Regions from separate parts of the Homo sapiens genome. Here all the other regions are linked to region 1. Evidence: promoter capture Hi-C in human tissues and cell types (Jung and others, 2019). All regions are on one chromosome and are shown on one strand. The core of a region is centred on a gene start or on the middle of the fragment in contact, and the rest is flanking DNA. Distances in the headings are between cores, read along the strand shown. Region 1 holds the start of TPPP3 (tubulin polymerization promoting protein family member 3). Region 2 holds the start of CBFB (core-binding factor subunit beta). Region 3 overlaps CBFB (core-binding factor subunit beta). Region 4 overlaps GFOD2 (Gfo/Idh/MocA-like oxidoreductase domain containing 2). Region 5 overlaps CBFB (core-binding factor subunit beta). Region 6 overlaps PHAF1 (phagophore assembly factor 1).

Evidence for each region. Contacts are between HindIII fragments. The study calls those that stand out against the background at their distance.
Region 2: the fragment with the promoter of CBFB here is called in contact with the fragment with the promoter of TPPP3 in region 1 in 1 of the 25 tissues and cell types used here (adrenal gland).
Region 3: a fragment that was not itself captured here is called in contact with the fragment with the promoter of TPPP3 in region 1 in 4 of the 25 tissues and cell types used here (IMR-90 fibroblasts, dorsolateral prefrontal cortex, liver and 1 more).
Region 4: a contact is called between a fragment that was not itself captured here and the fragment with the promoter of TPPP3 in region 1, in 1 of the 25 tissues and cell types used here (pancreas).
Region 5: a fragment that was not itself captured here is called in contact with the fragment with the promoter of TPPP3 in region 1 in 1 of the 25 tissues and cell types used here (small bowel).
Region 6: a fragment that was not itself captured here is called in contact with the fragment with the promoter of TPPP3 in region 1 in 1 of the 25 tissues and cell types used here (dorsolateral prefrontal cortex).

What each region holds. Positions count from the first base shown.
Region 1 is chr16:67,390,677-67,395,723 of GRCh38, forward strand. It overlaps TPPP3 (tubulin polymerization promoting protein family member 3), which reads right to left and starts at 2,822. Exons shown (of 4, transcript NM_015964.4): 1 at 2,704-2,822; 2 at 248-441. The coding sequence starts at 435. ZDHHC1 (zDHHC palmitoyltransferase 1) reads right to left here. Exons shown (of 12, transcript NM_001323627.2): 9 at 4,808-4,890; 10 at 4,511-4,604; 11 at 4,326-4,386; 12 at 3,476-4,217. The coding sequence ends at 3,934. It also overlaps the pseudogene RNU1-123P. The HindIII fragment of the contact is 12,612 bases long and covers 1-5,047 here.
Region 2 is chr16:67,026,995-67,032,041 of GRCh38, forward strand. CBFB (core-binding factor subunit beta) reads left to right here and starts at 2,155. Exons shown (of 6, transcript NM_022845.3): 1 at 2,155-2,491; 2 at 2,733-2,819. The coding sequence starts at 2,414. RefSeq lists an enhancer at 1,418-1,557 and silencers at 2,118-2,307, 2,398-2,637, 2,888-2,937. The HindIII fragment of the contact is 10,821 bases long and covers 1-3,761 here.
Region 3 is chr16:67,044,794-67,049,840 of GRCh38, forward strand. The region is part of intron 3 of CBFB (core-binding factor subunit beta); the gene reads left to right. Among named protein-coding and RNA genes, the nearest start is that of CBFB, 18 kb to the left of the region's middle. The HindIII fragment of the contact is 7,078 bases long and covers 1-5,047 here.
Region 4 is chr16:67,694,576-67,699,622 of GRCh38, forward strand. The region is part of intron 1 of GFOD2 (Gfo/Idh/MocA-like oxidoreductase domain containing 2); the gene reads right to left. Among named protein-coding and RNA genes, the nearest start is that of GFOD2, 22 kb to the right of the region's middle. The HindIII fragment of the contact is 7,245 bases long and covers 1-5,047 here.
Region 5 is chr16:67,100,023-67,105,069 of GRCh38, forward strand. CBFB (core-binding factor subunit beta) reads left to right here. Exons shown (of 6, transcript NM_022845.3): 6 at 1-1,036. Among named protein-coding and RNA genes, the nearest start is that of PHAF1, 7.4 kb to the right of the region's middle. The HindIII fragment of the contact is 4,683 bases long and covers 208-4,890 here.
Region 6 is chr16:67,128,647-67,133,693 of GRCh38, forward strand. It overlaps PHAF1 (phagophore assembly factor 1), which reads left to right. Exons shown (of 16, transcript NM_025187.5): 4 at 2,640-2,683; 5 at 3,800-3,879; 6 at 4,171-4,265. Among named protein-coding and RNA genes, the nearest start is that of B3GNT9, 20 kb to the right of the region's middle. The HindIII fragment of the contact is 3,254 bases long and covers 911-4,164 here.

The sequences.
Region 1 (5,047 bases), core at 1,572-4,071:
TCCCCCAGGGGAAAGCTCAAACACATTTGCTGCCACCACAAATTATGCAATTGCGTTTCTTTCCCACGTTTGGGGAAGTCGCAGGGGTCAGCAACTCTGGAGGGCAATAGATATAAGGTTTGCCCTGGAAGAACGACCTTCGTGATCATGGTGTTTCCCTGACCCCTTCTTGATGTCCTCCCTGGTTCCAGCCCCCCAGTTCCCCACCTCCTGGGAACATGAGAAGCAGGGGCTGCTTAGGGCTCACTTGACTTTGGAGAAGACGATGTCCACATCGGTCCCTGTCACGGACTTTCCGTCAGCCACCTTGCAGTCCTTGCACAGCTTGGCCCAGTTCTTGCCATTCATCTCTTGCCCACTGGCCTTGGGGTCACCATGGATGGCAAACTTGCGGAAGCTCTCCTCCAGCCCAGCCATGTCTGTGCTCGCTGCCATGCCACCCTATAGAGACCCACCTGGGTCATCTCCCAGCCAATCTGCCCTTCCCCTCCCCCAAGCCCAGAACATCCCAGCCTCTACCTCAAACCTGCAAGACCTGGGCAGGTTCTGCTACAGAGTTGGTGCTGGAGCTGCCTGGGGAGAGGGGCCCGTCACTGTCGCCCTGGGCCACAGAGCCCCAAGGAAGAGCCCCGGGAGGCACGGTCTTGTCACTAATGCCAGCCCTGGCTCTCAGCAGGGTTCAGCAGATGAAATAATGATGCCCACAGGGAACAGAGTGGCACTGTCCAGAAAGACTGTTAGGGCAGCAGCTGGGGCCCTGGCTTTGTCTGGCCCTGGCACAAGGCCTTGCTTGGGTGGAAGTGAGGGTGGCAGAGCAGGCCCCCTCCCTGGAAGCTCCATGCCAAGCTGGCTTGGGGCCAGGCCAGGCTGCTGGTCGGGCAGGCATTCAGTGAGGACAGCATCTCTGTAAGGGTCATGAGGACCCAGCAAGAGCCAGTCTGGGCACGGGTGCATGCCCTGGGCAGGGGTGCAGCTGGTCCAGCAAGGCCTTGTTACTATTTGCTGTTAAACAAAAACATGAGGGGAGCTTGGGGCTGGCCTGGCCACAGTTTGTGAAGCCTGGAGACGGTTGCTAAGGGAGGGTGGTGCTGCTTGGAGAATGTTGCTAAGGGCAGGATGGTGTCAGGGCAGCTCAGGGAGAAGCTCCCAGTGCTGAGGGGCTGGGCTGGGCTGGGAAGCTGGGGCCCACGGGTGGGGCACGCCAGCACTCCCTGCGCCTAGGGCATAACCGTGGCTTCCTGGCCCCTTGCCACCGACTGGTGCTGTAACCTCCCACTGTGGAGTTTTGGGGGAGCAGGAGGTTGGGGGCTAGTAGCGTGGGGGCTGTAGAGTTACGAACCCCAAGAGTCGTGCTGGCAAGTGGGGCTGTGGCTGAAACACACTTCATCATGTCTACACCTCAGACCTCCCCTGGCCACGCCCTGAACTTGGCCACACCAGCCCACATTCCCAGCGACCCTGTGCACTCAGCCCTGGCCTGCCACCCCCTGGGCCTTGTACCCCTGGCCATACCTTCAGCCCTCCATCCTCCATCTTCACACCCACAGCCACAGCCCTCGGCCACCAGCCCCCACATATATACTAACAAGCCTGCGCCAACCCCAGTAATACCCACAGTCCAGCACTAAAGTGCCCCCCACACCCACAGCCCTCCGCTGCAGACCCCTGGCCACACCCTGAGCCTACACAGCAGCCTTCTCCATCCCCACACCCGCAGCCCTGGGGCTGAGGCCCCTGGCCACAAACCTGCATCCCTTCCTGAGACCCCTGACCATAGCCTCAGCCACTCACCCCCTCCAATACCCGCAGCCCTTTATCAAGGCGCCCTGACCCTCAGCACCCCTTTGTCCACACACCCTCAGCCCTCTGGCCACACCCTCAGCCTGCACTGAAGGCCCCAGTCCACATCCACACACTAACATTATAAGACTCCCAGGTACTATGCGGAGATCCCCTGCGTAGAGACCTCCCCACCACATCCCCCTCCTCCACTGCCACCTCCTGACCACACCCTCGGTCTCAGCAACCATCTTCTAGCTCTGCCTTTTACACTAGGGCTTCCAGTGACCACGGCCTGGGCTCTGCCCGGCTGCCCCATCTTCCACCAAAAACTCCTCGCCAGTGACCACACTCCCATCCCTAAGTGGCAGTTTCTGGGACTGTGAGCACCGGTGGTTCCTACGTTACAGGGACCATAACCCCAGTCCACGCTGCACTCCCCTTCCCTTTCCCTGGGTGCAACCTCCCACCAGGGACCCCAAGACCCGCACTTGGTTCACCAAGGGTAACGTCCAGGGGAGCTTGGATGCCACAGGGTGCTTGGCCCAAGCACTGGGCGGATCCTGCGTGCAGTGCTCACTCCTGTCCGTGGAAAGATGGATTCTTGGTCATCTCAGCGCGGTCAGGTGGCGCTGGGTTGCAGGCCGCAGCCCCATGGGTCTGCAGGCCATGGATGGAGTGGCCACACCCGTGAACTGGAGCCACCCGTCCCGCTCCCACTGGGACAGCTGGAGTCATCAATCAGCCGGACCAGGAGGTGGGGGCTGCGAGGTGGAATGCTTGGGGCCAGGGCAGGGCCGCTCAGCTGGCTCCTCGGCTGGGACCGCCGGAGGTTGGGACCCTTTCCAGGCTGCTCCCCCCAACCCTCATCGTGCAGGATACTGATTGGGGTGGCGGGCATCTGGGTCTCCTATGGGCTTCTACCTCGCGGCTGCTCCTGAAGTGTGCGTTCGGAAGGACAGAACGACGCAGGAATGGACCGATGGACGCGGGAGACCAGGCGGCTCCGCAGCTCCGCTCCCTGCCGGCTCCCGGGTGGGACTGCAGCCCAGGCGGCTCCGCCGTATTATCCCCTGTTTCTCGGTCTCCATAGAGACGGCGAGTCCCACCCCCGAGGCTGTCTCGGCGGGAGAGTGACCAAGGTCACGCCGGCCCCGCCCACGAGGCCCCGCCCTCCCCGAGACTCTCCGGGAGCCGCATCCCGCCCCTCCCCCGCAACTCCGCGGTCCTCGCGACGGCGAGACCAGCGCTCTGCAGTTCGGGGCGTCTTCGGACGGCCCCCTGAGGAAACAGCCTCCCATCCTGGGATGTGCCTAAAGCTCTAAGCGGCCCCAATCTCCAGAAGAGATCCAGCTCCCCAGAGAGTCAACCAGAGGCCACTGGGGAGCTGCGCGGGGCATTGGTGGGGCTTGGGGAATCGGGAAGGAGCTCTCCCTCAGTGACAGGGGTATACGGTTGACTCAAGAGCACTGCCATCCACTGAACGGATGGCACCCCCAGGCCACAACTCCCGTGCTCTCTTGGGTAGGATTCAGAGCCTGGAGCAGTGGGGAAGAAGGGAGGGGACTCCCTACGAGCGAATCGCGCTCGCCCAGCCCCAGGATGCTGGCATTCGACGGCAGCCCTGCTGCCGGGGAAAAGCTGCGGGACCTCCTGGCTCGGCCCCCTCCTTTCGCCGCCACCTCCCCACGGCCTCGCAGCCTCAGCGCCCACTGCTGCTTTCGGAGCCCAAAGCCTGCTTTCTCTCGGCCTCCCAGTGCAAAGCCCATCTTTAAGAAAAATAACCTCCTCCAGGCCGCCTTCTAAGGCCTTTCCTAACCACGAGCCGCACGTGAGCACCTCCACAGGGCAGCCTGGGTGGCTACCTACTATACAGGGACCTCCTCCCCGCCCCCGGTCCACTGGCCAGGGTCGGGCTTCTGGATGGCCCGTGGCCCCTGCCATTAAGAAAGTAAGCGCGACGTCCGCAAAAGCATAAAAAAGTTTATTGGAGCATCACAGCCGGTGGGGCGGGTATTGCTGAGTCGTGGGGGAGGGAGGCCGATCCCGCCGGCCGTAGGGGCCCCTAAAGTGCACTCGGTGCGGCAAGGATGGGGTGTTGCATAGAGAGTCAGGCCGGCCGCTCTAACTCGGCCCTCCGGCCTCTCGGCCCAGCTAAGCCAGACCAGCCTCCCGGCCGCCCGGCGCCCTGGGCTCGCCGCTGCTCGGGCTCACGAAAACGGCGGGCGCACGCGCCTGCCGCGCCAGCGTGGGCTGTCGGCCCCGGCCCCGCGGGGCGGCCAGAGCGGCGCTGCCCAGGCGCGTCTGCGCCACTGGAATCTCGTCCACGGACTCTGCCGACGCCGAGTGGTAGGCGCCGGCAGGGCCAGCGGCGTGCACAGGGCTGGCGTCCGCGGAATCCGTCGACGAGCTGGAGCGGCGGCTGGGGGCCCTAGGCCCTGCGCAAGGGAAGGGAACATGAGCCCAGTGGCTGCGGCTCGCTTGTGGCTCTGCCTTCCCCTCCCTCGAGTTCCCAGAGCAGGACCCGGACAGGGAGAGGCGCTCACCCGACGCCGGATCCGAGGTCTCAGACGTTCGCACTTTATACACGCGCCTCTTCCTCTTTTTCTGCAGAGACACGGGGGAGCCTGAGGGCCCCACATCGCCAAAAGAAGCAGAGGCGAGCGCCAGGGTAGAGGCTTCTTTCTATCCCACTCCACCTGGACCGGAGGCCCAGCACAGTCCCTCCTACCTGGGGTCGGATCCGGGGAGGCAGGGCGAGAGTGTCTGGGGAAGAGGGTGGTGGAGGTTCCGCTTGGCCACGGGTGGCAAGAAACTGGGAGGGACTGAGGGGGAAGCAGGAGGGTAAGCCTGGGGCCTGTTCCCCAAATCCCTCCCCACTGGAGGTGCTGAGAGAAGCTTCCCTTCCTGTTAGCTCAGAGAAGGGCCTGACCCATGCCCCGACCTTAGCCTACCCCCTTCTCCTGCCTCGATGGCCCTGCCATGCTAACTGGAGATGCCCAGTGGCACATGCCCAGGTTGCACTCACTTGGCATTCACTGCTGCTGGCCCGGCCTGGCCAGGGGGCTCTGGGCGCATATGTCTGAAGGTCCGCATGTAGAACTCCATCTCCTGGGGAAGGTGGAAGTCAAGGAGGCTGGGAGGCCAGGTGTGGCTCCCGAGCCTGCTGAGCCCTAAGCCCACGCAGTCCTGCCCTCATTGGCCTCTGTGGGATATCTCAGGCCTCATGCCAGGCTCCCAGCCATGCTGGGAAAACCCCATCTGTAGG
Region 2 (5,047 bases), core at 905-3,404, 360 kb before region 1:
AATTTCCTTTATAAATTTCCTTTAATTCTGTTTTTTTAAATAAGTGAAAAAAAATTAACAACCAAAAAGGCATATAGAGGTCAGCCGAGGAGATGGCCTCCTTCAGCCTGTGGCTTATTTCCCGGTCATCCTGGCTGTTGGATGCCAGACTACGACGAGTGTGGGTTACCCTGTGGCCTGGAGTTGCCCAAGGCTGTCTGTGGGGCTGCTGTTCTGGGTCTGCTTGGCAGGCTTTGCTGTCCCTTTCCCTTAGGACATCGTTCCTCCCCTCCTTGAGGCTGACAATGAGAGCGCCCTGCCCTGCTCTGCACTCCCACCCCTCCAGGTCTAGCTCCCTTGACCCTGACCTTTTCCTTGCCTAAGCTCATGGCCATCAAGGCCATTCTAGAGATCTTTCAATTTTTATTTATTCCACATTTCCCATGGCAGAAACAATTATTGCTAGAGTCTTTGGCCAAGATCAACTTGGAGGTCTGTGAGCCCTCCTTGGACCCATTGTGGAGCAAGAGTGCTTCCTCATGGATTTTTTTTCCCCCCGAGACGGAGTTATGCTCTTGTTCCCCAGGCTGGGGTGCAATGGCACGATCTTGGCTCACCGCAACCTCTGCCTCCCAGGTTCAACCAATTCTCCTGCCTCAGCTTCCGAGTAGCTGTTTGAGACGGAGTCTTGCTCTGTGGCCCAGGCTGCAGTGCAGTGGCACCGTCTTGGCTCACTACAACCTCCGCCTCCCAGGTTCAAGCGATTCTCCTGCCTCAGCCTCCCGAGTAGCTGAGACTACAGGCGTGTGCCACCACACCCCGCTAATTTTTGTACTTTAGTAGAGATGGGGTTTTGCCATGTTGACCAGACCGGCCTCGAGCTCCTGATCTCAGGTGATCAGCCTGCCTCGGCCTCCCAAAGTGCTGGGATTAGGCCAGGCGCAGTGGCTCATGCCTGTAATCCCAGTACTTTGGGAGGCCGAGGCGGGCAGATCACCTGAGGTCAGGAGTTCGAGACCAGCCTGACCAACATGGCGAAACCCCGTCTCTACTAAAAATACAAAAAAATTAGCTGGGCGTGGTGGTGGGTGCCTGTAATTCCAAATACTCGGGAGACAGAGGCAGAAGAATCACTTGAACCCAGGAGGCGGAGGTTGCAGTGAGCCGAGATCGCGCCATTGCACTCCAGCCTGGGCGACAGAGCGAGGCTCTGTTTAAAAAAAAAAAAAAAAAAAAAAAAAAAAGAGGGCTGGGATTACGGGTATGAGCTACAGTGCCCGGCCACAGGACTAACTTTGAATCAAACTCTGCCATAAATCCCATGTCAGACTTTCTCCAGTTTGGGCTAAACAACTTCCCTAGAATTTATGGATCTTATTTTTTGCAGCTGATTGCACATTGAGTAAGTATATGGACTGGCAATCGGTTACATTCTTAACTCAGCTTGTTCTTCTTTAGAAACTTAAATTTATTGGGCTCCCACTGTGTGCTAGACCCACATAAAGGTTCTCACGCTAACACTGCAAACCTAGGAGTGTCTGCATTTTGGAAATAAGGAAACTGAGGTTTAGTGGTCCAATTCTTATCTAAGGCCCCAGCCAGCAGGTAGTGTAGCTGAGTGGGATCCCATCTAAGACCCATCTGACTCCAAAAGCCACGACCTTTCCACCATGACTCGGTTGGATTCTTTGGTCCGTTTCCACCTCAGTCTTCAACGTGCAGAGCCTACACCCCTGCCGGTCGGTTTAGGGACGAAAAGTCCCCAAGGACTTAGGTTTCCTCGCGTTCAAGTGACAATCTGGGGTTACTCCGCGCACCTGGGGAACCCAGAAGTTCCAGATGACCGAGGAAGGGCGGTAGAAAAGGCCTGCGCTGGCTACTCCCGTCTGCTAAAGGCCAGGCGGATCCCCCAACGACAGCTCCACGCCGAGTGGCCGCGGGCGAGCAGGGGGAAAAGGGCCCTGATGCGGAAGGAGCCCCGGGGCGCCACAGCCAGGCCGCTCCGCCAGCGGGCGGGTGGCGCATGCGCGGCGTGGGCCGCGGAGTTGTGAATGGTGCGTCTTGTTTGCCGGAGTTGGAGGCGGGCGGGCGCGCGAGGAGGAGGGGTGGGGCCGGCGGGGGCGGGGTGGGCGGTGAGAGGAAGTGGCGGCGGCGGCGGCGGCGGCGGCCGGGGGCGGTGAGCGCTGGGGCTGCGCGGGCGGCAGGCAACGGCTGAGGCGGCGGCGGCGGCGGCGGCGGCGTGGGTTGGGCTCGAGCGGGCGGCGGCGCCTCAGACTCCCCGGAACGGGAGCCCACGCGGGCGGGCGCCTGAAACAAAGGGAAGCGGGCGTCCGGGCGCCGCGGGTGGGCGGTCAGTCGGTCAGCGCGGAGCCAGCCAGCGGGTGCCCGCGCAAGCCCCGAGCGCGGCCGGCCGGCGCGGCCTCAGGGCGGGAAGATGCCGCGCGTCGTGCCCGACCAGAGAAGCAAGTTCGAGAACGAGGAGTTTTTTAGGAAGCTGAGCCGCGAGTGTGAGGTGAGGCAGGCGGGCGGGCGGCTAGGAGGCCGCAGCGCGCCCCGAGTGGGCCCGGGCGGAGAAAAGTTTGGGCGGCACGGTCCCCGGGAGTCCCGGTCGGTGCGCCCGCGGAGGGGCAATCTCGCCGGGGCGGCCATCGCCCGCAGCCTCTGCTTGCCCTTATCGGCGCTGCGCTGGGAGGGCGGGCGCGCGGGCGGCGCCGCGGATTTGGCTCCTGATTTCGGGCCGTCTTGCCTTGCAGATTAAGTACACGGGCTTCAGGGACCGGCCCCACGAGGAACGCCAGGCACGCTTCCAGAACGCCTGCCGCGACGGCCGCTCGGAAATCGTAAGTCGGCTGGCCCGGGGCGCGCGCGGGTCACTTGTTGCGCGGGGCCGCGGCGGCCCAGGCCGGTTCCGGACGGCGGCGCGGCTGCTGCGGCTCCCGGAACTGAGTGGGCGCCGTCTCACTTCCTACTCGGGATTCAAAATGCGAAACCAGATGCCGCGGGCCGGTACTCGCGGGGAGACGCTTTTCCTGGGGCTCGCCGCGGTGGCGCGTGTCGGCCAACGGAGCACCGCGAGTGGAGCTCGAACCCGAGCCAGACTAAACAAGCGAAGGGCATTGTTTAGGCGGCGACACCGAAGAAGGGTTCAGGGTATTTGTAGCAAGCAAACCCCCATTCGGAAAAAGAAGTGGAGCTTCATTCAAGGTCGGCGATAGTTTGTTTCTTAGAAGGTAGATCTGTCGGTAATTCTCTGTGTCAAGCGGTCTCACTACCAGATCGCCGAGTAGAAATCTTTCCTCCAGTTATTTATTCTAATAGAGAGGGGAGGGGGGGGAAAAGGCCCTAAAAATGTCATTTTCTTAGAATGTTAAGCTTCAGGAGAATCAGAAAGAAACCATTATCCCCATGTCCTGAGTAGGGCTGCTGTTCCTAAAAACTGCACAGATGGGCAAAACCCACGGTTGATCTCGAGGTCCTTGTTTTAGGAGGCAGATTTAGTGCGTCTTCACCAGACCTTGGGTTGAAAAAAAAAATCCAAGGGTCCTAGTTCCTCTCATCTTTTTGGTTTGCCTTGTTGGAGGTGCTGATGAGGAGGGAGTGGTAGGAAGAAACCAAGAAAAGAGGTTGATTATTACTATTTTTTTGAGGTAGAGTCTTGCTCTGTTGCCCAGGCTGGAGTACAGTGGCTCGATCTCGGGTCACTGCAACCTTCGCCTCCTGGGTTCAAGCGATTTTCCTGCCTCAGCCTCCTGAGTAGCTAGGATTACAGGTGCCTGCCACCACGCCCGGCTAATTTTTGCATTTTTAGTAGAGACGGGGTTTCACCTTGTTGGCCAAGCTGGCCTCCTGACCTCAAGTGATCCGCCCTCCTCGACCTCCCAGAGTGCTGGGATTACAGGCGTGAGCCACTGCGTCTGGCCTGATTATTTTTTAAAAAGTTGAAGCACTGTCTAATGGAATGCTGTTACTCTCTGCTCGGTGACTTGGACTCACTGCATTGTTAGAGGCTTGAAGCTAGGTGCGATTTGAATTTGGGTTAACAGTAGGAAGACATTGGAAATTTACTTCTCCCACCCCCTTTATAAAACCAGTTTATTTTTATTCAGATATAATTCATATGTCATAAAATTCTCCCTTTACATCACTGAACTCAAATTTATTTTTAAAGAATATTTTGATATTTTAAGTGAAAGCTTTTTAGAGTTGTAATAGTGAGAAGATACTGGTTAAATTTATCAGGAGCTCCTGAATATTTGGTCATTAGTGCATGTTATGAAAGAGAGTCTCAAGCTTTTAGCCCACTTGCAAATTTCTTGAGTAATTGTAGTATTTATATGATTGAAGTGCATAAGACATACTTTTAGGTTTTGGCACTGAGTGGTATAATAAAAGAATTCATTAGCTGGTGCGATGATCGTGTCATCCTTTGCCTGGGTTACCTTTTGCAAAGGGAAGGTGGTATACCTGACGATAGAATTTCCTGGAGGTAAAGGATGCAAGTATAAAAGATAAGTTACAAAGTACTTGTACTCTCACTGTTTGCTTTTTTGTTTTGAGACGGAGTCTCGCTCTGTTACCCAGGCTGGAAGCACAGCAGCATGATCTTGGCTCGCTGCAACCTTCGCCTCCTGGGTTAAAGCGATTCTCCTGCCTCAGCCTCCTGAGTAGCTGGGATTACAGGCACACACCACCACGCCCGGCTAATTTTTTTGTATTTTTAGTAGAGACGGGGTTTCACCATCTTGGCCAGGCTTGTTTTGAACTCCTGACCTTAAGTAATCCTCCCACCTCGGCCTTCCAAAGTGCTGGGATTACAGGTGTGAGCCACCGCGTCTGGTCTTGTTTCGTTTTTTTTTTTTAAGAGAGAGGTCTTGCTGTGTGGCCTAGGCTGGGGTGCAGTGGCTGTTCACAGGCACAATCATGAGGCACTACAGCCTCAAACTTCTGGGCTCAAGCGATCCTCTTGCCTCAGCCTCCCAATAGCTGGGACTACAGGCTCGGCGTCACCATACGCAGCCCCATGTGTTGTATTATCATCACTATCTTTGAAAGCTGAATTTTTTTGGAA
Region 3 (5,047 bases), core at 728-3,227, 350 kb before region 1:
GAGAAATCCCTATTTAAGCTCAAGAAGTTCCTTCTCTGTAGATAGCCCAGTCATTCCAAATAAAAGATCTCTATGGTAAAGCTTTGGAGTGTGATTTTCTTCAAGAGAAATTAGACAACTTTACAAATACCTTGTCACATCTGGATTTTAAGTATTTCAGTTCGACTAAAATATGAATTGACAGCACTTAGTTATTGACAGTTTAGTGTATTGAAATCTGGTTTTTAAAAATATGCTTTAGATAAACTATAATACTCTAATAATAACGGAATCATAAAATTTAGAACTGGTAACTGCAAGCTTATATATATATATATATTTGACACCTTTGTAGCTGGCAGAGCGTTTGTATTTTTAAAGAAAAGTTTTTATTTTAGTTATTTTAGTTATTTTTCAATCTAAGAGAGGAAGTCGACTTTCTGAAAAAATTAAAATGTTTTGGCTAGGTGGGGTGGTTCATGCCTGTAATCCCAGCACTTTGGGAGGCCGAGGCAGGTGGATCACCTGAGGTCAGGAGTTCGAGACCAGACTGGCCAACGTGATGAAACCCCACCTCTACTAAAAATACAAAAAATTAGCCAGGTATGCTGGCATGTGCCTGTAATCCCAGCTACTTGGGAGACTGAGGCAGGAGAATTGCTTGAACCCGGGAGGCGGAGGTTGCAGTGGGCTGAGATTGTACCACAACACTCCAGCCTGGGCAACAGAGCAAGACTCTGTCTGAAAAAAAAAAAATTAAAATGTTTTAAAATTAGTATGTCATAGTACCTTCCAGTTAGAGTACGTGAATCTGCATACATGGTAAATGCACCTCTGAAGCACTTGAAGATTGTGAAGTCCCGTTTTCTCTTCTTTTGGATTGCATTATTTCCATTTTAGTGTAAAGGTGAAATTCTCTTTCATGACCTTTCCTGAATTACATATTCCAAGTGAGAGAAGGCAGAAATAATATGTCTGAGAAGAGCATCCTTCACTCTTCCCCTCCTTCCTTCTACTTTCTACATTTTTTTTTTTTTTTTTGAGACAGTGTCTTGCTCTGTCATCCAGGCTGGAGTGCAGTGATGTAATCTTGGCTCACTGCAACCTCCGCCTCCCAGGTTCAAGCGATTCTCCTGCCTCAGCCTCCCAAGTAGCTGGGATTACAGGCACCCGCCACCACACCTGGCTAATTTTTGTGTTTTTATTGGAGATGGGGTTTCACCATTTTGGCCAGGCTGGTCTCAAACTCCTGACCTCAGGTGATCCGCCTGTCTTGGCCTCCCAAAGTGTTGGGATTATAGGCGCTCTGAGCCACTGTGCCTGGCCTTTTTTGTTGTTGTTTGTTTGTTTTTGAAACTAGATATCTCTCTGTCACCCAGGCTGGAGTGCAGTGGTGTGATCTTGGCTTACTGCAACCTCTGCCTCCTGGGCTCAAGCGATCCTCCCACCTCAGCCTCCCAAGTAGCTGGAACCACAGGCACGCGCCACCATGCCCAGGTAATTTTTTTGTAGATATGGGGGTCTCACCATGTTGCCCAGGCTGGTCTCAAACTCCTGGACTCAAGCAATCCTCTCGCCTTGGCCTCTCAAAGTGCTGGGATTACAGGCATGTACCCATCATTTTTTTTTAATGGTTAATTCAAATGCTGCCAGGATAAAGACTATTGAAATGTTGTTGTCTGAAGATGTTAATTTCTTTGTAGCACTGCTATGCCCTAGTTTTACTATTTCCCATTTTCACTTGTAGTTTTTCAATCAGCATTATTGAGGTATAATTTACATGTAGTACAGTTCACCTATTTTAAGTGTACAAGTCTGTGACAACTGTGTATTCAGTAGTATAACCACCACCAAAGTTCACCATTGCTTCAAAAAGTTCCCTCATGCCCCCTTGCAGGTAGTGTTCTAATTGATGCAGACATACATGCACTGATACTTTTGTGATCCTCATCTTACAGGGAAGAAAACGTTTGTAATTTCTTTTTAACAGCATAAAAATGCTGTTTACCTTCAGGTGCAGAGACTTTGTTTCTTCAATATTATTCTTTGATGCTTAGTTTTGTACAGAGGATTGGAAGCTACAGACAAGCTAAAGTATAATAGTGATATGGTAGACTTTAATTATTGTTCCTTTTTTTATGAAAGTATGCACGTGAACAGTTGGAAAGTATTATCTGTTATAAGCTTTTCAGTTTAAGCTGGGCCTCCTCAAATTGATGTGTGTTTAGGAACTAAGAATTTTAAATAACATTTGAAGGGCCGGGCGCAGTAGCTCATACCTGTAATCCCAGCACTTTAGGAGGCCAAGGCAGGCAGATCACAAGGTCAGGAGTTCAAGACCAGCTTGGCCAACATAGTGAAACCCCGTCTCTACTAAAAAAAAAAAAAAATTAGCCAGGCATAAGCTGAGATCATGCCACTGCACTGTAGCCTGGGCAACACAGCAAGACTCTGTCTCAATAAATAAATACCATTTGAAATGTCTTCAATGCCATGTGTGGAAACTATTTAAAAAAATAAAACGTGCCTCTTGGCAGTATTGCTGTGCTTTCAGGACTCTAATGCAGGCTGTACCTAAGAGGGAAAGGGCTGAGTCTGGGGATGGTTGGCAGGTTGTTTTTGTGGATGAAAAACCTTTTACCCATGTATGCAGTCAGTACTGAGCCTTTTTGTGTTTTAAAACTTCAGATGTAAAGACAGGTTAATCTTCAGATTAAAACAAAAGGATGGCCTAGAAACTTGTGACTTCGACATTTACATTAGAAGAATGTAGATGTTTTCAAATAAACAAATCTGCCCATATCATAGATGTTCAAAGTTTGTTCCATATAATAACAATGATAGTTTCTAATAATCGTGTGGCCCTGTTTGCAGAACAGTGTTCTAAGTAATGAGCCATTTGGGAGAACCCTTTAAATTTTTTTTTTAGGATATTTATTCACACCAGCTTTTTAGTCCTGAGTTTCTATCCATCCCTTTGCTATCCAGAACATTTCTTGGCCATTTTTTTACTGGGTCAGGTGCCGTGGCTCGTGCCTTTGGTCCCAGTGCTCTGGAAGGCCAGGGCGGGTGGATCGCCTGGGGTTAGGAGTTCAAGACTAGCGTGGCCAGCATGGTGAAGCCCCGTCTCTACTAGGAATGCAAAAATTGGCTGGGCATGGTGGTGGGTGCCTCTGGTCCCAGCTGCTCGGGAGGCTAAGGCAGGAGAATCACTTGAACCTGGGAGGCAGAGGGTGCAGTGAGCCAAGATCGCGCCACTGCACTCCAGCCTGGGAACAAAATTCCATCTCAAAAAAAATAAAAATAAAAATGCAGAAATTGGTCAGGCGTGGTGTCGCATGCCTCTGGTTCCAGCTACTTGAGAGAGGCTGGGGTGGGAGAGTTGCTTGGGCCTGGGAGGCAAAGGTTGCAGTGAGCAGAGATCGCACCACGGCACTCCAGCCTGGGTGACAGAGCAAGGCTCCATCTCCAAACAAACAAATAACAAAAAAAACCCCTAAAACATTTTTTATTTTCCTTAAATGTATTGGCCAAGGTTAAAATATCCATCCTGAATATTCTGTATGAAAACATTGGATATGAAGAAAAAAAGAAAATTCAGGCAGTTGACCAGGGGAGAGAATTGAGCTTTTTGGTTCTTCCTGACACATATTCTCAGTGAGACTATACTCACTTTTTTAAAAGCTATTTATAAAATATTAAAATAAGATATTACATGAAGTTAAAAATTGAAACGAAAGTCAGCATCTTAATTCACCAATTACACAACTGAATGGTGTTTTTTGTTTGTTTGTTTGAGACAGAGTCTCGCTCTGTTGTCGAGGCTGGAGTGCAGTGGCATGATCTCAGCTCACTGCAAGCTCTGCCTCCCGGGTTCATGCCATTCTACTGCCTCAGCCTCCCGAGTAGCTGGGACTACAGGAGCCCGCCACCACGCCTGGCTAATTTTTTTGTATTTTTTTAGTAGAGACGGGTTTTCACCATGTTAGCCAGGATGGTCTCGATCTCTTGACCTTGTGAGCCACCGTGTCTAGCCTTTTTTTTTTTTTTCTTTTTTTTTTTTTTGAGATGGAGTTTCACTCTTGTTGTCCAGACTGGAGTGCAATGGCGCCATCTCAGCTCACCACGACCTCCACCTCCCGGGTTCATGCAATTCCCTACCTCAGCCTCCCGAGTAGCTGGGATTACAGGCATGTGCCACCATGCTTGGCTAATTTTTTGTATTTTTAGTAGAGACAGGGTTTCTCCATGTTGGTCAGGCTAGTTTTGAACTCCTCATCTCAGGTGATCTACCCACCTCGGCCTCATAAAGTGCTGGGATTACAGGTGTGAGCCACCGCGCCTGGCCACTGAGTGGTTTTTAATATATTCACAACCATCACCATTATGTAATTTGTGAGTATTTCAGAACTCTGAACCATTTTATTTATTTTTTATTTATTTACTTATTTTGAGACAGAGTCTCTTGTCTGCCAGGCTGGAGTGCAGTGGCGCAATCTCGGCACACTGCAACCTCCGCCTCCCGGATTCAAGCTATTCTCCTGCCTCAGCCTCCTGAGTAGCTGGGATTACAGGAGCCTGCCACCACACCCGGCTGATTTTTGTACTTTTAGTAGAGACGGTTTCACCATGTTGGCCAGGCTGGTCTCGAACTCCTGACCTCAGGTGATCTGCCCACCTTGGCCTCCCAAAGTGCTGGTATTATAAGCGTGAGCCACCGCGCCCGGCCCCATTCTGTTTATTTTTGAGACAGACTCTGTCTCCCAAGCTGGAATGCAATGGCACAACCATGGCTCACTGCAGCTTCAACCTCCCAGGCTCAAGCGATTCTTCCACCTCACTGGGACTGTAGGCACATGCCACCGCACCAGCTGTTTTTTTTTGTTTTACTTTTTGTAGAGATGGGGTCTCACTATGTTGCTTAGGGTGGTCTCGAACTCCTGGCTGGGTTCAAGTGATCCTTCCACTTTGGCCTCCCATGAACCATTTTAAATGCTTTTTGAGAACTGCAAAGCAGTTTTTATGGTGATCACTACCACCGGACACTGTGCTAGATGGTTTACATTAT
Region 4 (5,047 bases), core at 1,778-4,277, 300 kb after region 1:
AGGCATGAGACACCACGGCTGGAGAAATTGTTTTCTCAACTTCATTTTCAAGCCCAGCATCTCTTTTGCTCCTACTGTAGACACAAGTGTACTGGACTAAGAAAATGTCTATAGTAGGGGATGGTTTGTCAGCATAGCCCAGTATAACATCCTGTACTGCTCGATTCTATCTGAAGTACACCTGTTCCTTTGTGAACCACTAAATTACACATGACTTGGGCTGCCTCTAACTCCAGATCCCTGCCAATTTCGTGCCTCTTGTCTCCACTCTCTGTGACTGTGAAGCTTGGCTTGCCTCCTGTACTCTCACTGGGGTTGTTTTATTTTAACCAGCTTTCATTCTTTCTGATGGTAAACTGTCTGTGGCCACTCAGTCACCTTGCTTTCCTTTTCTACTTTCTCCATCTCTCTCTTTTTTTTTTTTTTTTTTTTTTTGAGACGGAGTCTCACTCTGTCGCCTAGGCTGGAGCGTAATGGTGCAATCTCGGCTCACTGCAACCTTTGCCGCTCCGGTTCAAGCGATTCTCCTTGCCTCAGCTACTACCTCAGTAGCTGGGGTTACAGGCACACGCCACCATACCCAGCTAATCTTTGTATTTTTAGTAGAGACAAGGTTTTACCATGTTGGCCAGGCTGGTCTCGAACTCCTGACCTCAGGTGATCCACCCGCCTTGACCTCCCAAAGTGCTGGGATTACAGGCATGAGCCACTGAGCCCAGCCACCATCTCTCTCTTTTCTCTTTGCTAATTCTGCCCCTACAGGCTTCTCTACTAGTTTTCTTAGAAAACAGGTCAAGCACACAGTTATCTTCTACAATTTTCATGTCCTGGACTCCCTTCGGCTATTTGGTCACTGTCTGCTTTTACAGGTGTCTTGGTTATTTACAGGTTATGGCTGTTATAGGAGCTTGACAGTGTCAAGCATGCAGCATTAGGTAAGTAGTGAGATTCTACTTAAGTTTTTTTTTTTTTTTTTTGAGACGGAGTCTCATTTCTGTCACCCAGGCTGGAGTGCTGTGGCATGATCTTGGCCCACTGCAACCTCAGCCTCCTGGGTTCAAGCGGTTCTCCTGTCTCAGCCTCCCGAGTAGCTGGGATTACAGGCATGCGCCACCATACCTGGCTAATTTTTGTATTTTTAGTAGAGACAGGGTTTCACTATATTGGCCAGGCTGGTCTCGAACTCCTGACCTCAGGTGATCCTCCTGCCTCGGCCTCCCAAAGTGCTAAGATTACAGGCATAAGCCACTGTGCCCAGCCAAATTTTGTTGGTCATTAATTACTAATTGTTACAGGGCTAAGGGAGTGAGACACAGTCCATGTCTTCTCTAAATTCATGCCCAGGGCACACCTCCTCCACTCTCACACCGTGTTCCTTCTCACCCTAGTTGTATTTGGGTATATATAGGGAATGTATGTATCCACTACATAGGGAACCCTTTTTTTTTTTTTGAGATCGAGTTTCGCTCTTTTTGCCCAGGCTGGAGTGGTGCAATGGCACGATCTCGGCTCACTGCAACCTCCACCTCCCAGGTTCAAGCGATTCTCCTGCCTCAGCCTTCCAAGTAGCTGCGATTACAGGAGCCCGCCACCATGCCTGGCTAATTTTTTGTATTTTTAGTAGAGACGGGGTTTCACCATGTTGGACAGGATGGTCCCGATCTCTTGACCTCGTGATCTGCCCGCCTCAGCCTCCCAAAGTGTTAGGATTACAGGCGTGAGCCACCGCGCCCGGCCGGGAATCTTTTTTTTTTTTTTAAATGATCTATTACGTATCTATGACCAACTTAGATGTCTCCTCTTCAAAAGCTGTGTAGGAATATGAGGATGATAATTTTGAGCCAATATGAAGTGAAAAATATATATAAGTATCGGTAGCTTAAAACAACAGAATGGACTAGAATTTTTTTTCTTTTTTGAGACAGTCTCGCTCCGTCACCCAGGCTGGAGTGCAGTGGCGCGCTCTTGGCTCACTGCAAGCTCTGCCTCCTGGATTCACGCCATTCTCCTGCCTCAGCCTCCCGAGTAGCTGGGACTACAGGCACCCACCACCACACCCGGCTAATTTTTTGTATTTTCAGTAGAGACGGGGTTTCACCATGTTAGCCAGGATGGTCTGGATCTCCTGACCTCGTGATCCGCCTGCCTCAGCCTCCCAAAGTGCCGGGATTATAGGCGTGAGCCACTGCGCCCGGCCGAAAAATTTTTAATAACCTGTTTTACTGCCACTGACTCAAAGGGAAGCTTCATCAACTCCCATAAAGGGGTATTGGCTGGCCCCCGAGGAAGCCAGATGGCATGAAGGCAGGCAGGCTTGCTGACTAGGTATTTCCTGCCCAAGCAGGCAGAGCTGGTTTTCCTTGTTAATTTCAGTGGCTACCCTTTCTCACCCCTAAAATTTCCCCACTCTTTGTCTTTAACATCCTTGCACATATCCTTCAGATGCCTCCAAAGATCTCCACAAACCCAGTCCTGCCAAGACCACATACATTTCCCATCACCACATGCTGGTCAGGAATGAAGTGTGCCTTGGCAGGACAGGCTATATACAATTTGACAAGGCCTTGCCTGGGTTCAAATCCTGGCTCTGTCACTTTCCAGCTGGGTGACCTCAGGTAAGTCCTTTAGTCACTCTGTATCTCCATTTCCTCATCTGTAAAATGGGGAAATTTTATCTACCTCACAGGGGATTTAAGGATTGAGTTAATATTTGTAGAATACTTATAATTGGGCCTGGCCAATTAGATATGAGTCAGTACATAGGGAATCTTTTTCTGAAAAAAAGATATCTGTTAACTATCTGTGACTGACTTAGATGTCTCTTCTTCAAAAGTTGAGTAGAAATATGAGGGTCATAATTCTGAGCTAATATGAAGTGAGTATAATAGGGCAGCCAGTGTTTAGTCTGTCCCTTGTTCCATGCAACCCTGTTGTACAGATAAGAAAACATGCTCAAAGAGGTGAGGTAACTCTCCCAGGGTTCCACGCCTGGCTGTGTGCATGACCTGCTACAACCAGCATGAAACCTTGAGCAGGTTACTTCACTTCTCTGAGCCTCTATAAAAACAAGAAAGAAAAAGAGTCATTTTGTAACATGTGCATGTGTGGAGCAACTCTTCTTCCATCCTTCCTCATGAGTGTGAGCCAGGCAAGTTCCTTCCACTGTCTGCTCTGGGGGTGACTGTTTGCCTCTGATCCACTGTTCAAAACCAATACTAATCTGGTCAATGTCTCACCTTTTCTGAGGAGCTAACGAGGGAGCTGTGGGACATAAAAAGATGAAAAGTCCTAATTTCAGGGGTGACAAGTCAGCAAGGTGAGTAGGAGCCAGAACTGGTGGCGTAAAGTGTTAATCTCAAGAGTTTGGACTTTGACAGGTGGGTGTGCTCAGTATTCTTGGTCTGCTCCTCCTTCCCTACCTGATCCTCTCTGCCCTGCTTTTTGTCTCTGGAGTCAGAAGGTCAGTCTCTAAAGCCCTGGGCTCCAGGTCCTCTGGCTTCCATCTGAGTCCAGCCAAGGGAAAGAACCAGGAAGAGATCAGCGAGCAGGAGGAAAGGCCAAGGTGTTTATTTTTTGCCTTCTCTCCCTCCCAGGATATGGTTCTGGCAGAGCTGTGTTCCTTAACCAAGGTCACAGCTCCTTTAGAGGACCCCTCTCTCCCATGGCCATTGCTTTTGCTGGGTTCCAGTGACACATCCCCACTCCGTCATTGCACCTAGGGTGGGGACACTACCTTGCCAGTCCCTGGGTGCTCCACTATCCCTTGTATGTTTCCTTTACTACTCACACTATTGTGAATAATCCCTTCATTAAAGAGTTTTTAATTAACCCTTTGAGTACACTGACTGTTTCCTGTCTAGACCTTGACTAATGCAGGTAAGCAATAAGAACCATTGGATTTTTTTTCTTTTTCTTTTTCTTTGAGATGGAGTCTTGCTCTGTCACCCAGGCTGGAGTGCAGTGGCGTGATCTTGGCTCATTGCAACCTCTGCTTCCAGGTTCAAGCAAGTCTCCTGCCTCAGCTTCCCGAGCAGCTGGGATTACAGGTGTGCGCCACCATGCCCAGCTAATTTTTGCATTTTTAGTAGACACGGGGTTTCCCCATATTGGCCAGGCTGGTCTCGAACTCCTGACCTCTGGTGATCTGCCCACCTCGGCCTCCCGAAGTGTTGGGATTACAGGCGTGAGCCACTGTGCCCGGCCTGCATTTTTTTTCTTTAATTTGGCAGAAAGACGTAGGTAGGATAGAGTTTAGGAGACATTAGACACAGAGAACCAGTTAGGATATCAAGTAAGACATAAGGAGGGTCTAATGGAGGGAATGAAATGGAGCAGACAGTTATCACTAGGATTTGGGATTATCAGCAGGGTGGGAGAGCCAAAAAAATAAAATAAAATAAATAACTGAACTATAGACCAATACGTCTCATAAACTTAGGCACAAAAATCCTCAACAAAATATTAGCAAATTAAATCTAGCAATGTGGCTGGGCGTGGTGGCTCACACCTGTAATCCCAGCACTTTGGGAGGCCAAGGCGGGCGGATCATGAGGTTAGGAGATTGAGACCATCCTGGCTGACATGGTGAAACCCCGTCTCTACTAAAAATACAAAAAATTAGCCAGACGTGATGGTGGGTACCTGTAGTCCCAGCTACCCAGGAGGCTGAGGCAGCAGAATCGCTGGAACCAAAGAGGCAGAGGCTGCAGTGAGCTGAGATCGCACCACTGGCACTCCAGCCTGGGCAACAGAGCAAGACTTCATCTCTAAAAAACAAAACAAAACAAAAATAAATAAAAATTAAAAAAAAAATACACCATGACCAACAGGGGTTTAATCCCAGGAATGCAAGGCTGGCTCAACATTCTAAAATCAACTACTATTGGATAGGAGAATGTGGTGTTTTTTTGTTTGTTAGTTTGGTTTGAGACAGAGTCTCACTCTGTCACCCAGACTGGAATGCAGTGGCGCAATCTCGGCTTACTGCAACCTCCGCCTCCTGGGTTCAGGTGATTCTCGTGCCTCAGCCACCCGAGCAGCTGGGACC
Region 5 (5,047 bases), core at 1,299-3,798, 290 kb before region 1:
AATGTAAGAATATTTTTTAAATAGGCTTACTGTCAAATTGCAACTTTTTTTTTAGATACAGAGTGGAAAACAGTGCTAAGTCATTTGGCACCTCCTTACAAATATTTTTCATGGTCACATTTATTAAATGTTACTACATTTCTGAATTTTTGAAAAATGTATTTTATCATTAAATGGCATTATTTTAAAGGGTGAAAAACTGACACAGTCAATTCAGAAAATGGACTGAAGTCTGAATAAGGTCATTGCATTTAAAAAGCATATAACTGTACTTGACTGATGAGGGAGGTGTTACTTTCATTGTATATAGGTCTTATTTCATAAACAGATATCCTGTATCAAATAAAAGTATTTGTTATATATTTGAAGTTATGCATGGAAAGGAGTGTGTTTAAATTGTTACAAACAATAATGCGTCATTAAAGGCCATGCTGATCTTGCATAACTATAAGTACTATGAATGAATTTGGTTGGTTTTGGTGTTGTACAGCTCACATGTTTACACACTCAGTGCCCTAATTTCCCCTGAGGGAATCGCTTTTTAAGTGATCCTTACAGTGGTGTTTTATGTTACTTTATTACAGAGCTCCTTGGTTTTTTACTTCTGCACTTAAATTTTTTTAAATAACATGATGATGGTACATTTTCCTCTATTGTCTAGCTAAGGGCTTTCGGTCCACCAGTAAATAAGATCAAATGCTCTTAAATGTTCCTGTTACCATCCTAATGTAAATACTGGATTTTTCTGTCATTTAGCACCATGCTGCTTCTGTCTGTCTTAATGCTGGCATTAAGATCATGAGCCCTTTTTCTCCAGTAGTACAGGCTTTGAAAACTACTTCTATTAAGTTATTGATGCAATTTGATATTTTTTCATAATCTATATTTAAACAAAATTACATCATTGCATCATCTTTTCTAAATTCATCTCCATTAAAACTTGCCTTAAGCTACCAGATTGCTTTTGCCACCATTGGCCATACTGTGTGTTTGTTTGTTTAATTTACTTTCACAATAAACTTCTGTGTAGTAAAAACAGGGTCTTGGCTCTTTCTTGACCTAACCCAGTAATTTCTAAGAAAGCAACAACAGTGGCATCTAGTGGTAATTTCTGTTGATTCCAAAGAAGACTACTTTAAATATAGGTATCACAAGGTATACAAATCCCCCAGTGTATATTATGGTTTTCAAGAAATCTGGCTTGATTTACCCATCCTGTGAGATATGACCATAAAGTAGTGATGTTGGGAGAAAGAATTTTAAATTACACATCCAAATTAGTTCCATCTTTCAAGCTAGTTGTTTTGGAAATATACAGCCGTTTTGATTGTGCTGGTGTTATATCAAACATTCTTAAGACTCCTGGCATTTTCCTACAACAGAAAAGTAAGCCCTTTTCCTTGAAAGTATGCCTTAAGCTTGACACATGATAAACAGATTCACTCATTAACCACAAGACTTACTGCAAATGACAAAAATGCCTTTAAATTCTGAATTGACACCATTAAGGGAAATTCCAAAGAGTAGGATTCATGCTCTGAGAGTTAATTTCAAAAAATTGAGCAGTAACAGCATGGTTTTAGTAAGTATATCACTTCTAGAAACATAATTGGATATGCTAGCTCGGGGCTGCTTGGTGAAAAATATCTTACTTGATTTATGCCTCATTTGGCAATGAGGAGCTTTTCAATCTATAAACCATTGTATTATCCATAACACATTACCCCAAAACTTAGCAGCTTAAAACAATAAATACGTATTATCCCACAGGTGAGTCACAAATCTGGAAGTAGCTAAGATCAATGGTTCTGGTTCAGAGTTCCTCATAAGGTTAGAGTCATCCTGGGCTACAGTCATCTCAAGGATTGACTGGATGAAAGATCCCCTTTCAAACCCACTAATGTGGTCACTGACTGGCCTCGGTTCTTTGCAGCTTGCTAGATGAAAGGCAGATGTTCCTTGCTAGATGTTGGACAGAGACCTGCTTCCATTTCATGCCCAGCTGGGTCTTTCCATAGGACAGTGCACAGCAGGGTAGCTGGCTTCCCCCAAGGCAAGTGATCCAAGAGAGCGCACACCCAAGTTGAAAGCACAGTCTTTTTTTTTTTTTTTTTTTTTTTTTTTTTGAGATGGAGTCTCGCTCTGTTGCCTAGACTGACTGGACTGCAGTGCTGCAATCTCAGCTCACTGCAACCTCCCCCTCCCGGGTTCAAGCGATTCTCCTGCCTCAGCCTCCCACGTAGCTGGGATTACAGGTGCCCATCAACATGCCCGGCTAATTTTTGTATTTTTCATAGAGACGGGGTTTCACCATGTTGGCCAGGCTGGTCTCAAATTCCTGACCTCAAGTGATTCGTCCGCCTCGGCATCCCAAAGTGCTGAGATTACAGGTGTGAGCCACCATGCCCAGCCAAAAGCACAGTCTTAGAACTGAATCTTGGGCTGCCATATTGTATGTTAGAATCAAGTCACTGGGTCTGGTCCACACTCAAAGGGGGAGGAATATTAAGCTTCATCTGTTGAAGGCGGGGATGTCAAAGCATTTGTGGACATCTTTCTAAACCACCATGGTGATATTACCAAATATACGTAACTGAGTATAAGATACCTTTGGTGTTTTGCCGGGCGCGGTGGCTCACACCTGTAATCCCAGCACTTTGGGAGGCCGAGGCAGGCAGATCATGAGGTCAGGAGATCGAGACCATCCTGGTTAACGGTGAAACCCCGTCTCTACTAAAAATACAAAAAATTAGACGGGTGTGGTGGCGGGCGCCTGTAGTCCCAGCTACTCGGGAGGCTGAGGCAGGAGAATGGTGCGAACCCAGGAGGTGGAGCTTGCAGTGAGCCAAGATCGCACCACTGCACTCCAGCCTGGGCAACAGGGCGAGACTCCATCTCAAAAAAAAAAGATACCTTTGGTGTTTTAATCTAAACATTCTTTAAAGGTAAGATTTCAGTCTTGCAGATTTGAATACATGATTCCCCCTAGATAGCATCAACCCCTTTTCTTGCATCACCATCATATATTCATATATGGCATTTCAGAAATGTTCCAAAGCTAAAAAATGACAGTCACAGGGTGAAATCATGGATGGAAATGGCAGTTTAGTTTGTTTAAATATGGAATATTCTGAAACAGATAAGTCACTGTTTTAGTCAACTCCCAGCTTTTGGTTAGAAAATTTAAGCAACTTAGAATTAAGGTCGTTATTGGCCTCATTCAGATTTCAGAAATGTTGAGGAGATGTTGTAGATAAAAATAAAAGGCCAGGCACAGTAGCTCATATCTGTAATCCCAGCACTTTGGGGGGCTGAGGCAGGAGGATTGCTTGAGGCCAGGAGCTCAAGACCAGCCTGGGCAAGATAGCAAGACCTTCATCTGCACAAAAATATTTTTCTTAATTAGCCAGGCATGGTGGTGCACACCTCTAAGTCCCAGCTACTTGGGAGGCTGGAGTGGGAAGATCGCATGAGCCGAGGATTTTGAGGTTGCAGTGAGCTATGATCTTGCCACCGCACTCCATCCTGGGCCACCAGAGCAAGATATTACCTATAAAAATAAAAATGGAAAATGTTGAAGTTCTATTTTTTTTTTGGAGACTAAAAGTATGGTTATCATTTAGGGGGGGAAATATCCAGTGTCCAAAATAAACATGTTCCCTGCTCACAAGGAATCTACAGTCTAGCTAAAAAGCTGACCAAAGGCAGTAACACTGTTTAAGTTACATTAGAAGTACTGGCTCTTATAGTACATCTATTCTAGTCTGGGTGGTGAATAAAAGCTTCCCTAAAGAGATGTTTTGAGGGTGGGTGCGGTGGCTCACGCCTGTAATCCCAGCACTTTGGGAGGCCGAGGCGGGTGGATCACAAGGTCAGGAGATCAAGACCATCCTGGCTAACATGGTGAAACCCCGTCTCTACTAAAAAATACAAAAAATTAGCTGGGCGTGGTGGCGGGCGCCTGTAGTCCCAGCTACTTGGGAGGCTGAGGCAAGAGAATGGCATGCACCCAGCAGGCGGAGCTTGCAGCGAGCCGAGATTGCACCACTGCACTCCAGCCTGGGCGAAAGAGTGAAACTCCGTCTCAAAAATAAAAAAAGAGATGTTTGAGCTAAGATCTGAAGGATGGCAGACCTTAAGCTAGCTAGAGAAGGTATTGCAGGTAGCTAGCCAATAGCTTGGCAAGTTTGAGAAGCTAAGAGCAGCTGAGTATGACTGGAACAGAAAAGAGGGGGCTGCAGCAGTGAGATGAATCCAGAAGGGCAGATTCCACCCAGCAGAGGGCAGGGTAAGAGTCACAAGCAGTGCTGGACTGGCCTTTCCAACCGTGTTAAATAAAACATTTGGACCATTCCCAAGGGTGAACAGGAAGCCATTGAGGGCTTATGACCTTGATGGAATCGGTGCTTGAGAAAACTCAATTTTGTTTGGGGAGAATAAGACTGGAGTCAGAAACTTGGTCCCACTGATCATACGATATAGTAACACAGGAAGATTAAGGGTAGCTTTGTTGGCATGGAGACATTTCAAAGCTATAAACAGTACAGGAGGCATAATTGACAGTTTTCCCAATTTCTCTTATCAGTCAGGATAGGCTGGTTATGTTGCTTTGTTTTGTTTGTTTGTTTTTTGAGATGGAGTCTCATTCTGTTGCCCAGACTGGAGTGCAGTGGTTCAATCTCTCCTCACTGCAACGTCCGCCTCCTGGGTTCAAGCAACTGTCGTGTCTCAGCCTCCCGAGTAGCTGGGATGACAGGTGCCCGCTAATTTTTTGTATTTTTAGTAGAGATGGGGTTTCATCATGTTGACCAGGCTGGTCTTGAACTCCTAACCTCAGGTGATCCACCCGCATCGGCCTCCCAAAGTGTAGGGATTACAGGCGTGAGCCACCACGCCTGGGCTGGTGTGTTGCTTTAAAACACCAAAAAAATTTATTGGCTTAAAGATTTATGTCTTATATGCTAAATACTCATCAGGGGTTGACCTAGGCTAACAAAGCAGAACTGGAGGACTGCCAGCCATTGTGACAGAACCAAGAAAGAAAACA
Region 6 (5,047 bases), core at 1,288-3,787, 260 kb before region 1:
AGGAGCTTCTGTAGCCCAGAGATGGAAAATCATGGGCTTTAGCCTTCCCAGCTGCTTGTCCCTGTAGTGCAGCAAGCTCCAAGAGATGAAATCTGCTTATTGATGCTCCTAGTGACATGAAGGACTCCAGGATGGCCAGCACTCTGGGTCCATTGCCACAAGTGCTGCTTCGTGCCCTGTGATTAGCTCTGGTCCACTGTTTTCCCATTGATCAGGCAGGGTCGAAGCACCTATATGTGTTGGACCCGTATAGCTGTTGGCAGGTGGGGTGCCAGTGATACAGGAGGAACATCGTGCAGGCTCACTTCCACAGGGCGGGTGGTGGGAAGCTTTGGGGGATGACTGGCCAGCTGTAGGGATAGAAGTGAGGGAGGTGAGTGCCTGTGCCTGCTATGAACAGGAGGGCTTCTGGCTGAAGGTAGAGGCTCTCTGCTAGACAAGGCTCTGGCCTCAGTGAAATGGCATGCCAGTTTGGCATGATATATTCCCATGCCCAGATATTCTGAAGGGGACACTGGCTATCTTCTGAATCATAGCTGTTCCCCTGCCCTTCCTTCCACAGCCCCTCCTGGCACTTCTTTTCATGCTTTCAAGCTTCATACCAGGCAGAATTGCCTAACATGAATTGAACACCTTCCCTATGCAAATTAATGAGTCCCTCAAGGGGCTTAACTTATTGGACCACTTAACAGAATACACAAGTATGGAGGAAAGGATTCATTCCAGTGCTGTGACGGCCTAGCAGAGGGAGCAGTTCTTTCTAGCAGATAGGATCAAAAGAGCTACATTATAGTCAAGAGGTATCCAATTTGGTTCAGTGTTGTGGTCTCTAAATAAAGTTAGGGATAGGGTCTCTGGCCAAAAGCGAACCTACTATCTATTATGTCTCAGTTTCTTTGGCAGTGCCAGATGTTCCTGCATACAATGCCCCACAGCCTCTTCCACAATCAGGCTCAGATTGGCAGGACAAACAGATATTGAGCCAGCTCTGCTTGTGTCTCCACAATGAGAGCAAAACCTCCCAGCTGGAGGATGGTAGATGGTGCTCCGAGCCCCTACCTGTGCTGCTGGCTGCCAAGCCCTTGACACCATTGCATGGAGGACTTCATAGTGCTTATTACTTGGCACCACTGATGGCGGAGTGTTAGGTGATGCCTATTCCTTTATCTCTGCCCTGCCCTGAGTTCTTAGAATTTCATCTGAGGCTGAACCCATTAAAGAGCAAGCTTCACAAAGGTCCTGAGGCTTTCTTGTTTCAACCAGATCCTCTTCATCAGGGACATAACTGAATACTGTCACACTTGTGTGACAAATATTATGGCTTGCTTTCTAATGGGATAGACCTCCCCCTCCATCTTTTTGTTTTGTAAACAAAATCAACTTCAAAATAAGCTATTTTCTTTCTTTCTTTCTTTCTTTTGGAGGAGTCTCGCTCTGTCGCCCAGGCTGGGGTGCAGTGGCGCAATCTCCGCTCACTGCAAGCTCTGCCTCCCGGGTTCACGCCATTCTCCTGCCTCAGCCTCCTCAGTAGCTGGGACTACAGGCGCCCACCACCACGCCTGGCTAATTTTTTGTATTTTTCAGTAGAGACACGGTTTCACCGTGTTAGCCAGGATGGTCTCAATCTCCTGACCTTGTGATCCGCCCGCCTCGGCCTCCCAAAGTGCTGGGATTATAGGCGTGAGCCACCGTGCCCGGCCTTTTTTTTTTTTTTTTTTTTGAGACGGAGTCTCGCTCTGTCACCCAGGCTGGAGTGCAGTGGCGCAATCTCAGCTCACTGCTACCTCCAACTCCTGGGTTCAAGCGGTTCTCCTGCCTCAGCCTCCACAGTAGCTGGGATTACAGGTGTGTGCCACCACGCCCAGCTAATTTTTGTATTTTTGGTAGAGACAGGATTTCACCATGTTGGTCAGGCTGGTCTGGAACTCCTGACCTCAGGAGATCCACCTACCTGGGCCTCCCAAAGTGCTGGGATTATAGGCGTGAGCCACCGTGCCCGGCTAAAATAAGCTATTTTCTAAAGCAACCCGACCTGGGTTTTAAAATGCAGCAAAATATGAGATGGGAGGAAGGGGGCTTAGTGCCCAAAGCAGAGCCTTAACAAGCTTCATGTCTGTGGAAGAGATCATTGTCCTATAGGGTGGTGTGTGCTCCAGCCTGACCCAGAAGTGGACTGCATGTAAGAGCCTTGACCCAGAGCATCCATGGACATCTGTTGAGCAGTCCACTAGGAGAGGGAAGCTAAGAGGTTATGCTGAAGGGGACACTGGCTATGGTTATGCTGAAGGGGAAACTGGTTTTTTCCCTGGTTTCAAAATAACAAAGGACTGTCATGGTGGCTCATGCTTGTAATCCCAGCACTTTGGGAGGCTAAGACAGGAGGATCATTTGAGCCCAGGAGTTTGAGACCAGCCTGGGCAACATAGTTTTTTAGTTTTGCTAAGATTCTATCTCTACAAAAAGTTTTTAAAAAAATTTTAAATGAGAACAAAAGATAACATGCAGTGCTTCCATAAAATTTCTATTGGTAATAGTTTTTTTTTTTTTTTTTTTTACTATTTATTCTATAAATGTATTTTTAATCATTTTTAGTCTGTCATCACTTTCAGAGCATTGACAACTCTTAAACTTTTTTTTAGGTGATCGAAGTATGTGATTTGACTAAAGTAAAGTTAAAATATTGGTAAGTTTTCTCCCCTGCTGGTATATGTCACACTTGGTATAGACAGGCCATATCTACTATCTTCATAAGTTAGTAAAGATTCACATCTGTCACAGATGTGAATTATAGCCTGGTGCCATGAATTCCTGAGGCAACCTTCAAGCCTGCTCAGTTTCCTGGAGAAGAGAAGTAAACCTCATTAAGAATATGTGATGTGTTTAACACTTCATGTATATGTCATCTAACTTAATCCACTTGACAAAGCCAGACCTCAGCTCAGAGGTGATGTGACAGTCTCCTGGGTCATAGCTGCCCTCCCGCTGACAGCCTCTCTTGGCACCTCTTTTCATGTTTTCATGAGTAACAGAGGTGGGACAAACCAGATAGGTCTGACTCCAAAGCCTATGCTGAAGAGAATGCCAAAGAGACCACCATTTTAGAGCTATAATGTATTTTTTAGAATTACAGCGGGGATGACATGCACAGTCCAAAGTTGTTGCGCCCCCATTATGGCAAGGCAGCATGCCTGCATCTAAAAATCTAGAATACTCCTTCCTTTCTTTCTTTCTTTCTTTTTTTTTTTTGAGACGGAGTCTCTCTCTGTCACCCAGGCTGGTGTGCAGTGGCGCCATCTCAGCTCACTGTAACCTCCACCTCCTGGGTTCAAGCGATAGAATACTCCTTTCAGTAAGTCTCCTTAACTGGCTTCCCTTTCCCTTTTTGAGGGTGTGAAGAGGACCTGATTCCTGGGGCAGGCTCAGGCAGTTTTGCTGATAGAGGAGTAGACAAGCAAATGTGTGGTACCACTGGCCCCTGCAGGTTCTAGTTGTCTTTTAGTTTTACTGGGGCCTTCATACCTCAGGGTCTGGTGGCTTCTCTTCTCTACCCTTTTCTTAAGAGTCACTGGTGTCATAAAGCCCCAGAGGATCAACTCTGTATATCAGCCTCATGAGAACTGACCTTCTCCTGACCTCATTAATGCTCTTATTTAAAAGTTCTCTAATTAAGCTTTGTATTTTGATATAATTAGAGACTCACCTGCCTGTGTCTTAAAAATAACTCTCCCAGCTACTATCTCACATGATCTGTGGGCCCATCTTGTGAAGCCTAGTATTAAAAAATATTTTTGTTTTTCAGTGGCGTGCATTTTAATTCTCAGGCCATAGCTCCTACCATTGAACAGATTGACCAGTCTTTTGGCGCAACCCATCCTGGAGGTAAGCCAAGTCCATCTGATTCCTCTGGTCATCAGTGGCAGTTCATAGCAATAAACCTGCCCGGTAGTGCCATCCCACCCCACTTCCTGGAGTCAGGCTCCCATAGGATTGTGGGGTTGGTACTTGGGTGTGAAGGAAACATCCTCCCCCTTGTTTTCAACCTAGTAGGCCAGTTTAGAAACAAGCCACAGGGAAGGTGTTGTCAGTCATTACTCCCTGCCAGGCTGGTTTATGTTAGCCATTTCAGATGCCAGTCAACCATGTTATTTTCTTCTCCCCCACCCCCAACAGTGTACAACTCCGCTGAGCAGCTCTTCCATCTCAACTTCAGAGGACTGTCTTTCTCTTTTCAGTTAGACTCATGGACTGAGGCTCCAAAGTATGAGGTTAGCCCTTCCTGTCCCCTGGTGTTTGTTGTATGTGTCTGTGGTATGGCTCAGCAGATGGTGTCATGGGATGGGAATAGAGGAGTGGGTATTAGATAGGCAGACTTTCTTTGGTTTCCATGTATTTGAGCTCTACAGGGTAAAGTGGTAGAGTGGGTGGGTTGACAGAGGAAGAACAATGCTCAGGCTGGCATTCCGAGGAAGAGGATACTTCCCACAATGGAGTGAGGTCAGGCTCACTTTTCAGAGATAAGTTCATTCATTCCTTATTTTCAAGCTCCTAATCAACAGTTTTCCTGGTGGCCTAGAATTTGGAGATTTCATCCTCTGGATTTTCAGTTACCTTTGTTTTTGCAAACATTTCATTCATCCTAGGGGCTGTGAAAATGATAAGCTTTCATAAGACTTATTTTAATTAAGGAAGCATTTCTGCATTTTCCCCTATGAAGAAAAGGAAAACTGACCGGGCATGGTGGCTCATGCTTCTAATCCCAGCACTTTGGGAGGCCAAGGCGGGCGGATGACTTGAGGTCAGGAGTTCGAGACCACGTTGGCCAACATGGTGAAACCCTGTCTCTACCAAAAATATTAAAAAAAAAAAAAAAAAAAAACAGGCCGGGCGCAGTGGCTCACGCTTGTAATCCCAGCACTTTGGGAGGCCGAGGCGGGCCTCCTGGCTAACATGGTGAAACCCCGTCTCTATTAAAAATACAAAAAATTTAGCTGGGTGTGGTGGCGGGTGCCTGTAGTCCCAGCTACTTGGGAGGCTGAGGCAGGAGAAT